2 separate regions of the Homo sapiens genome follow, and region 2 is linked to region 1. The links are contacts of gene promoters, found by promoter capture Hi-C in blood cells and fetal thymus (Javierre and others, 2016). All regions are on one chromosome and are shown on one strand. The core of a region is centred on a gene start or on the middle of the fragment in contact, and the rest is flanking DNA. Distances in the headings are between cores, read along the strand shown.

The links. Contacts are between HindIII fragments. The CHiCAGO score rates a contact against its expected background, and 5 or more counts as called.
Region 2: a contact is called between a fragment that was not itself captured here and the fragment with the promoter of LRMDA in region 1, in 1 of 17 cell types (M2 macrophages). The highest score is 6.2, in M2 macrophages.

What each region holds. Positions count from the first base shown.
Region 1 is chr10:75,429,878-75,433,402 of GRCh38, reverse strand. LRMDA (leucine rich melanocyte differentiation associated) reads right to left here and starts at 1,779. Exons shown (of 7, transcript NM_001305581.2): 1 at 1,649-1,779. The coding sequence starts at 1,678. It overlaps LOC107984293 (a long non-coding RNA gene), which reads left to right and starts at 1,793. Exons shown (of 2, transcript XR_001747703.2): 1 at 1,793-1,881; 2 at 3,093-3,525. RefSeq lists enhancers at 970-1,470, 1,471-1,971 and a silencer at 1,730-1,829. The HindIII fragment of the contact is 4,872 bases long and covers 1-2,946 here.
Region 2 is chr10:75,649,748-75,653,272 of GRCh38, reverse strand. The region is part of intron 2 of LRMDA (leucine rich melanocyte differentiation associated); the gene reads right to left. Among named protein-coding and RNA genes, the nearest start is that of MIR606, 99 kb to the right of the region's middle. The HindIII fragment of the contact is 2,340 bases long and covers 726-3,065 here.

The sequences.
Region 1 (3,525 bases), core at 530-3,029:
AGGGCCTAAAATGCCTCACCCACACTTCCATGAATGCCCTTGGGCTGTTTGGAGTAGGCTAAGAACAGGGGCTGCAGGAAAAATCGAATCTAGGAAACGGAGGAAGAGCAAAGGGAAAGGAAGCACAGGAAAGTGCTCAGCCCCATGAACTTGTAGCAAGGTACACCGGGAGAACACCAAATCTGAAACGCAGAGAGACCTAGGGTCTGGGGGGCAGGGAACCCTCCTTCTTAGGTAGATACTCCAAGAGAAGGAAAAGACCCTCTTGTCCAGCCCCTCCCTCCAGGCAGTAAATTAACTCCCAGAAAAAAAAAGCCCCTTTCCCCGATGGCTGAACAAGACCCGTCATTTTTAGCCTCTCCGCAGGCTGTTAACTCACTTCTGAACTCTGGTCTTTCTCCAGCTCTCTCCTCCCAGGCTGTGGGTCAAGGGACAGAGCCAGCATTCCTGAGCAACAAAACTGTTAAATGGGGGGTGCACAGAGACAAAGGAAAGGCTAATTTCCAACAACACCTGGCATGGTGCCTGGCATACAGTAGGCACTCAATAAACATGTGTACCTGATGAAACGACAGGACTCTGGAAAAAAAGAAAACAGGCAGCGGCTAGTTTAATGGGCTGCACAGTTGGCCCTCACTGCATCTGTAGGAGCTGTAAAAACCCCTAGAATCTCCTCTAAGGAGGAATCATTCCCTTCAGCCCAAAGTAATCTCAAAATCCAATTGTGCCTGACACTACCTGCCTTAGGCAATCCAAGAGGAGAGCTTCAAAAACTCAGAACTATTTCTCCAGGGTGTGCAGGGAAAGGTGGGAAGTAAGAGGGCTCTGGCTTCATCAGAGCAGAGAAGAGGTTAAAGACAGAGAACTGGCTTTTCCAGCAGGTAAGAAAGACACCTGGTCCCAGAGTGGCTGGGTTCATCCCTCCAACAATGAACACCTGAGGCTTCACTACAGAGCTCAAAGCATGTGAGACTGGGTGTCTGGCACCCAGGATTGAAACTGGCGTGTTGCCATTCATCACAGACTCCTGTTCAAGAAATCGAGTGTGGAAAGAGAACTGGAGGTCGGTGGCCTTCCATCAGCCTTTGGCTATGGCGTAGCCCATTCAGCGCAGGGCCCACCAGCACCCTCATCTCCAGGGATGTGCTGGGACTTTGGGTACCCTAGACACTTTTGCCTTCATAAACCCCTTCCTCCATTTACAAATAAGTAAATTTGTATATTACAACTGCATTGGTATAAAGATGACTATATCAATGTGATTTATCAAAATGGATTCTTTGACCAAAAGTTTTTAAAATTCAGATTATGAAATTGGAACATTTTCTGTGGGCCCCCAAAAGCAGCGGGGGCCGTCAGCACTGTGTCCGCTGGGCCTGCTCAGTGAGGCGCTAAGGGCAGAAGGAAGTGGGGAGAACGGGAGACCTTGCGGGTGTTCTTCCCGCACATCAAGGGGGTGTGCCAGGCCCGAAACGAGGTCTGTCCTAGCCCCACTAGGGCGAGCCTGAGCACCTGAAGCTCACCCCCTGCAGACGCAGCCCCCTGAGGCGGGGACAGGGGTGTCTAGGCCCTGGGGAGCCTCTGTGCCCCGCTGTCCCTCCCCACGCGGACTGCGCCCCGGGCGGAGGCGGGGCTGGCCGGGACTTACTTGAGTTCCACGCACCACGAGCCCGGCCATGGCGGCCAGGACGCTGCGGGCGCGCGGGACGGAGCGCGGGGGCGCGGCGGCAGCAGCGGGGAGCGCGGCAGGGGAGCGCGGCGGGCGCACAGTTCCGCACTGGGCAGTCAGCTGACCCGGCGGAAGCCGGAGGCGCGGGCTAGCCTCGGGGACCTCAGCTCCGCCGCTCGCCGCCGCCGCCCCTCGGCCCGGTCTCCGCGCAGGTGAGCCCTGGCCGCCCGCTGCAACAGGTGGCCCGCAGCGCCCCGCGCCCCGACGGCGGCCTGACCCCGACTGCCCGCGCCCCTCCCTCCCCCGGATGTCCCAATGCCCAAAACTCCATGCCCACAGCTTTATCGCGTTTGTCTGGGCCACGCCTGAGGTGGGGGTATTCCTATCAGGGGCGCCCTTTCTGAGCCGTTAGCCGGGCTGTAGCCAGCCGGGCCTTTCCTGCATTTCGCAAGCTGGGTTACATAATGGACCTCAACTGCAGCGAGGAGGGGCCTCTTGGCTGAACGCCCCTCCTCATCAAAGCTGGGGAGAGGGAAAGTTAGAAGGTTGAAGGACTCCTGGTGCGGCCCAGTTTCCATTTGTAGGAGGGGAGGGGGATTGGGGGGGTTGAATTTCCCTATAAATAAAACGCTGGCTTGGTGAAGACCACCCCACCCTTTCCCTGTGGCCTCTAAGAGTTGACAATAATAAACCCTGGGGAAGGATAATTGGCTGGTGACCCCAAATTTCAGGCTTCTCTTCTCCTGCTCCTCAGAGGGCAAGAGATTTGTGAGGCTTGAAGTTATCAGTGGGGTTATTCGCTGTTCCCCACCCACCCCATCCCCACCTGGAAGAGCTGGCCACGGGCCTCCTGTCTGGATGAAAGTAGGCCCAGTGGGCAGGTAACTCCCTAAACCCATGCCTGTTTTTCTCTGAAATTCTCTGGAAGGATCCAGATTTTCTCCTTGCCTATTCTTGCCTCCAAGTCCAGGATGCACAGAGCTACCAGATATCAACTGGTTGTCATCTTCCACTCTTGCTGCAGCTAAGAGCCAGCCCAGCCTTAACTGGCATCGTCTCTCAGACAGCCCCGGTCCTAACACATTGTTAGGTGGGCCCTTGTCAGCATTTTGATGAGCAGTGTTGATCTCGGAGGGTTGACCTTCCTGCCCCTCTCTCAGCTGGGAGGAGCAGGCTCAGAAGAGTAGAGCAGTAAGAATGCAGTCTTGACTGTGTTTACTTTGGGGGATTCCAGGAAATGCTGCAACAAAAGGTCCTGCAGGCCAAAAAAGAAAGCTTACCCTCCAGAGATAAGGGGATCAAAGGGAACCTTCCCAGGCCTGTTGCCCCAAGGACCAGCTCCCCCGCCTTCTCCCTCCTTCTCTGCTGGACGCGCCCTCTCTGGTCCATTGTGCACTTTTGTCTGCTTTTCCTGCCTGAAAAGGAGGAAGTGAGCCCGGACCCAGCCAGCACTCTGCCCTCCGCAGCTGCCTTTCAGCTCAGCTTTCCTAGAAGGGCTTTGACAGATGGAAGAGGACTTGTGGAAACAGGCCCAAGCTGACTCAAAGATGAGATTGGAGAACGGCTCTCCCTTCCCCCACCAGAAGGGGGTTACTGAAGGTCATCTCATCCATCCCCCTGCCTCCATACACAGCTGGGTCATCTGAGCATAGGCTGTTCTGCAGACACTACCAATGTCACCAAAGTGGGCTGGCATCTTTCCCCCTTTCCACACCCTCTCACTACTGTTGCCTCCTCCACATAGCCCCAGGGCAACCATTTTAAAAGCCCAATTAGATCCTACCTAAAATCTTTCAATGGCTCCTAATCAAGTAATAATTAATACAGTCCAGAATCTTTAGTATGTCCCTGAAGAT
Region 2 (3,525 bases), core at 646-3,145, 220 kb before region 1:
CTTCACGATCCTGTCTGAAGCTTAAAAGAAAGCCTGAACACTAAAGAATTCTGAATCCATGTCAGCTCAATAGAGGGCTAAGTCTTTTATCTTCACCTGGAATAGGAATGAAAGAAGAAAAACCCAACAGTTCATTCACTTCCCCAAAAATATTCTCTGCTTCAGTCTTAGAGAGCTTGGAGTCCATTAAAGCCAGAGTGGGTCTCAGAAATCACCTAATGTGACCACCTTATTTTAAAGGGGAGCAAACCTGAGCCCAAAGAAGTCAAGCAACTTGCCCAAGCAGAGAGAGTGTTCAGAATCAACATCTCTGGCCTTTAGTCACCACTTCTCTAGCAGAGGAGGGAAATAAAAGTATGAGCTTTACTCCAAGTGGTAAGAACTTTTGCCCAAATTTTTTTTCCAAGTGCTTGCAAAATTCTATATCAACATATGAATTATGTTTAAACTAGAAACAGGCATTAATGGGCTCAGAAAGAAGTGATCAAAGGGGACCCTATTTTCACAGAATGCTTCCTGGACAGATAGAAGAAACACACACACACATCCCCCAGAATACATGTCTGATAGACCCAGATATGGCATCTCCCACTGACTCCCTCAAAGGAACTCACCGGAAGACACTGCAGCCGAGGACAGTGGACTGTACATTTTATGAGAAAGTCAGTTCTAGACCCAAAGATTAAAACAAAGTACAGGCAGCTCAAAACCCAAGAGGGAAAGCTTAATGCTTCACAGAACTATTCACAGACAAGTTTAAAGAAGAAGCAGTTTATCAGACAAAATAGTTCTGCAAAGCACTGTGATATAGTCAGAAAAACAGCTAGTTCCCAACTAAGTTTATCTGCCCTGACAGCTTCTGTCTTGGCCTGGCAGAGGCTGAGTGTCTACACAGTGAACATAAAGATAACCTACAATGGCTACACATCCCCATCCATTTGCCAAAGGTCACTAAGGATTGAGCATTTTGCTTCAGTGCCTCCACTAATCCAAAGACATGCCAATCTGCTTACTGTTACACAACGTCAGGAGGTTTGGATTTTACTTATCGAGGGATGTCGGACTTGCTTTGTCAGAACTTGGTGGCTATTAGCACAAGGCTGAGTGCCCATGGCTGCAATGAATTTTTTAAAATTATCTGGTTTTAGGATGCCCAGGAAAGAGGACCTGACTAACAAGATGGTGGTAACTATTGTTGGACAACATTTCGCTTTGAGAACATAAAAGCCAAATGGTGAAGCAATGAGAAATTAAATTCATGGCCTGGAAAACAAGCCAAGATTTTAAAATGTCATGTTGATACAGTAGGTGCTCTTGAGAGTGGGGTAGAAAAGATGTCAGGAACTGGATTGATTGCATTTTCATAGCAATACTGTGTGATGGAAGTGGAGAAGTGTCAAGTCTATTGGTACCCTTAAGTGCTTTAGGGGCTCATACCATATCTTTCATCAAAACCCTATACAATGTAAAAAACCCACCATCATATAGCTCAATGTGCTCAGTCACCAAGGCCTACAAAAGACTCTTCCCATAAAAGCCTAAGCAAGATTGGCTGGGTCCTTATGCCTTCCTTTTGGGCCACCGGGAGGTGCTGTTAACAGCAGCATGGCTCTCAACTGACAGATAACTTGGAAAGATAAAGGTGACTATATTCCCTCTTCTAACACAGCTTGAAAATCTCCTCCTAGTACGCCTAAGCCAACATGATTTGGCTTATACACAGATCCTAAGAGGAGCTAATATTTTTCCTTGAGTGTCCAGAGAATGGATGAATAAATGAGCTTGTTGTGAGAGACCACAACACTTCCTATTGACTTCCAGCTGCAGCCTAAGAAGACTGAAATGCACAGAAATCCCTAAGTGGGAGAGTATCCAAGGGCTTATGACAGTGTGCACAGTCTTCAGGGCTGAGCGATACCCTCAAACATAACCCTTTAGAATCACATTTTCTGCCCAGATCCTAGAGCATGGAAGCAGCTTTCTTCTTGAGCCCAGGTTTCGGGACTCATGGATTTACCTCACAGCTCACTGGTAGATGAGGTATACATGATTGGTGCTTAGGGATATATCCTGTCTCTTGCCATACAGCAACATTTTGGCATAACAGCACACAGAGTACAGAAACCTCACTGTGAAAATATACACAAGGCAAGAAAGAAGGAAGACACGGGCCTTTCTAGGGCTAACAGAGAAGAATGTCAGGAGAGAAAAAGACAGAGAAGATCAGGTAGAAAATGGTGGAGAGAACATTTTGGGCCAAGTGTTTTTTTTCTCTTTTCACAACAATGTGAATGACACAAAGAGGCTTCCCTGACCTGAGGAGAGAGTAGGCTGCCCTTTGATGCTGGGGCGACCATCTATAATGCTGATGAGAGTTCTCTCTGGCCCTGTTTGCCCACCATGGGGGCTCATCCTTTGACCGCATCCTCACCCCGGTGCTGACCTCCAGTTTAGTCATGGGACTGCAGGAAGAAGGGTCATCTGAGGGTCAGGAAGATGGTGGCCCTCACACTCACCAGAAATCTGAGCCTTCCAGTTAGAAAAGGGCCCTCCCTCCCTTTCCTTTTAAAGACTTGAAAGACCATTCCAAGTCTGTTTTCTCTGTTGACTTTAAAATCGCCAATACTATCACCTTTCCTTTTCAAAAGTTGGGCAGAGAGGCAAAGAATTGTGGTTGTGACCTGTTCCAGGGTCAGAGCCAAGAGTAGACCCTGCATTGCAACTCCTATCTAGCGGTCTAAATGTTTAAATTCTGCTATCTCTCAACCTTATCATGAAAAAAAAAAGTCAATAATTTAATGGGGGAGACAAAAAATAATTTTGTTATTAAAAGAATAGAGAACCTAGAAATAACTCTTGCATAGATGGTCAAATGATTTTGACAAGGTTACTAAGACAGTCTTTACAACAAATTGTGCTGGAAAACTGGACATCCACATGCCAAAAAAGTGAGTTGGACCCTTACCTAACACTATCTACAAAAATTAGCTCAAAATGGATCAAATAACTGAGCATTTAAGAATGAAAACGATAAAACTTTTAGAAGAAAACATAGGGGGAAAGCTTCATGACACTGGATTTGGCAATGATTTCTTGGATATGACACCAAAAGCACAGGCAACAAAAGAAAGAAAATAGACAAACTAGACTTCATCAACTAAAATCTTGCACATCAAAGGACACTATCAACAGAGTACAAAGGCAACCTATGGAATGAGAAAATATATTTGCAAATCACATATCTGATAAGGGATTAATACTCAAAATAGAAGTCCTAATGCTCAACAATAACATCAACAAAAGAAGACTCAATTCAAAAATGGGCAAAGGACTTGAATAGACAGTTCTCCAAAAACATATGCATATGGCCAATAAGTACATGTAAAGGCATTCAATATGACTAATCATTAGGGAAATACAAATAAAAGCCACATGAGATGCTACTCATACTCACTGAGATGGCCATCATCACACACACCCAAACAAAAAGAAGAGTTGGCAAGGATGTAGAGAAATCGGAAAGTT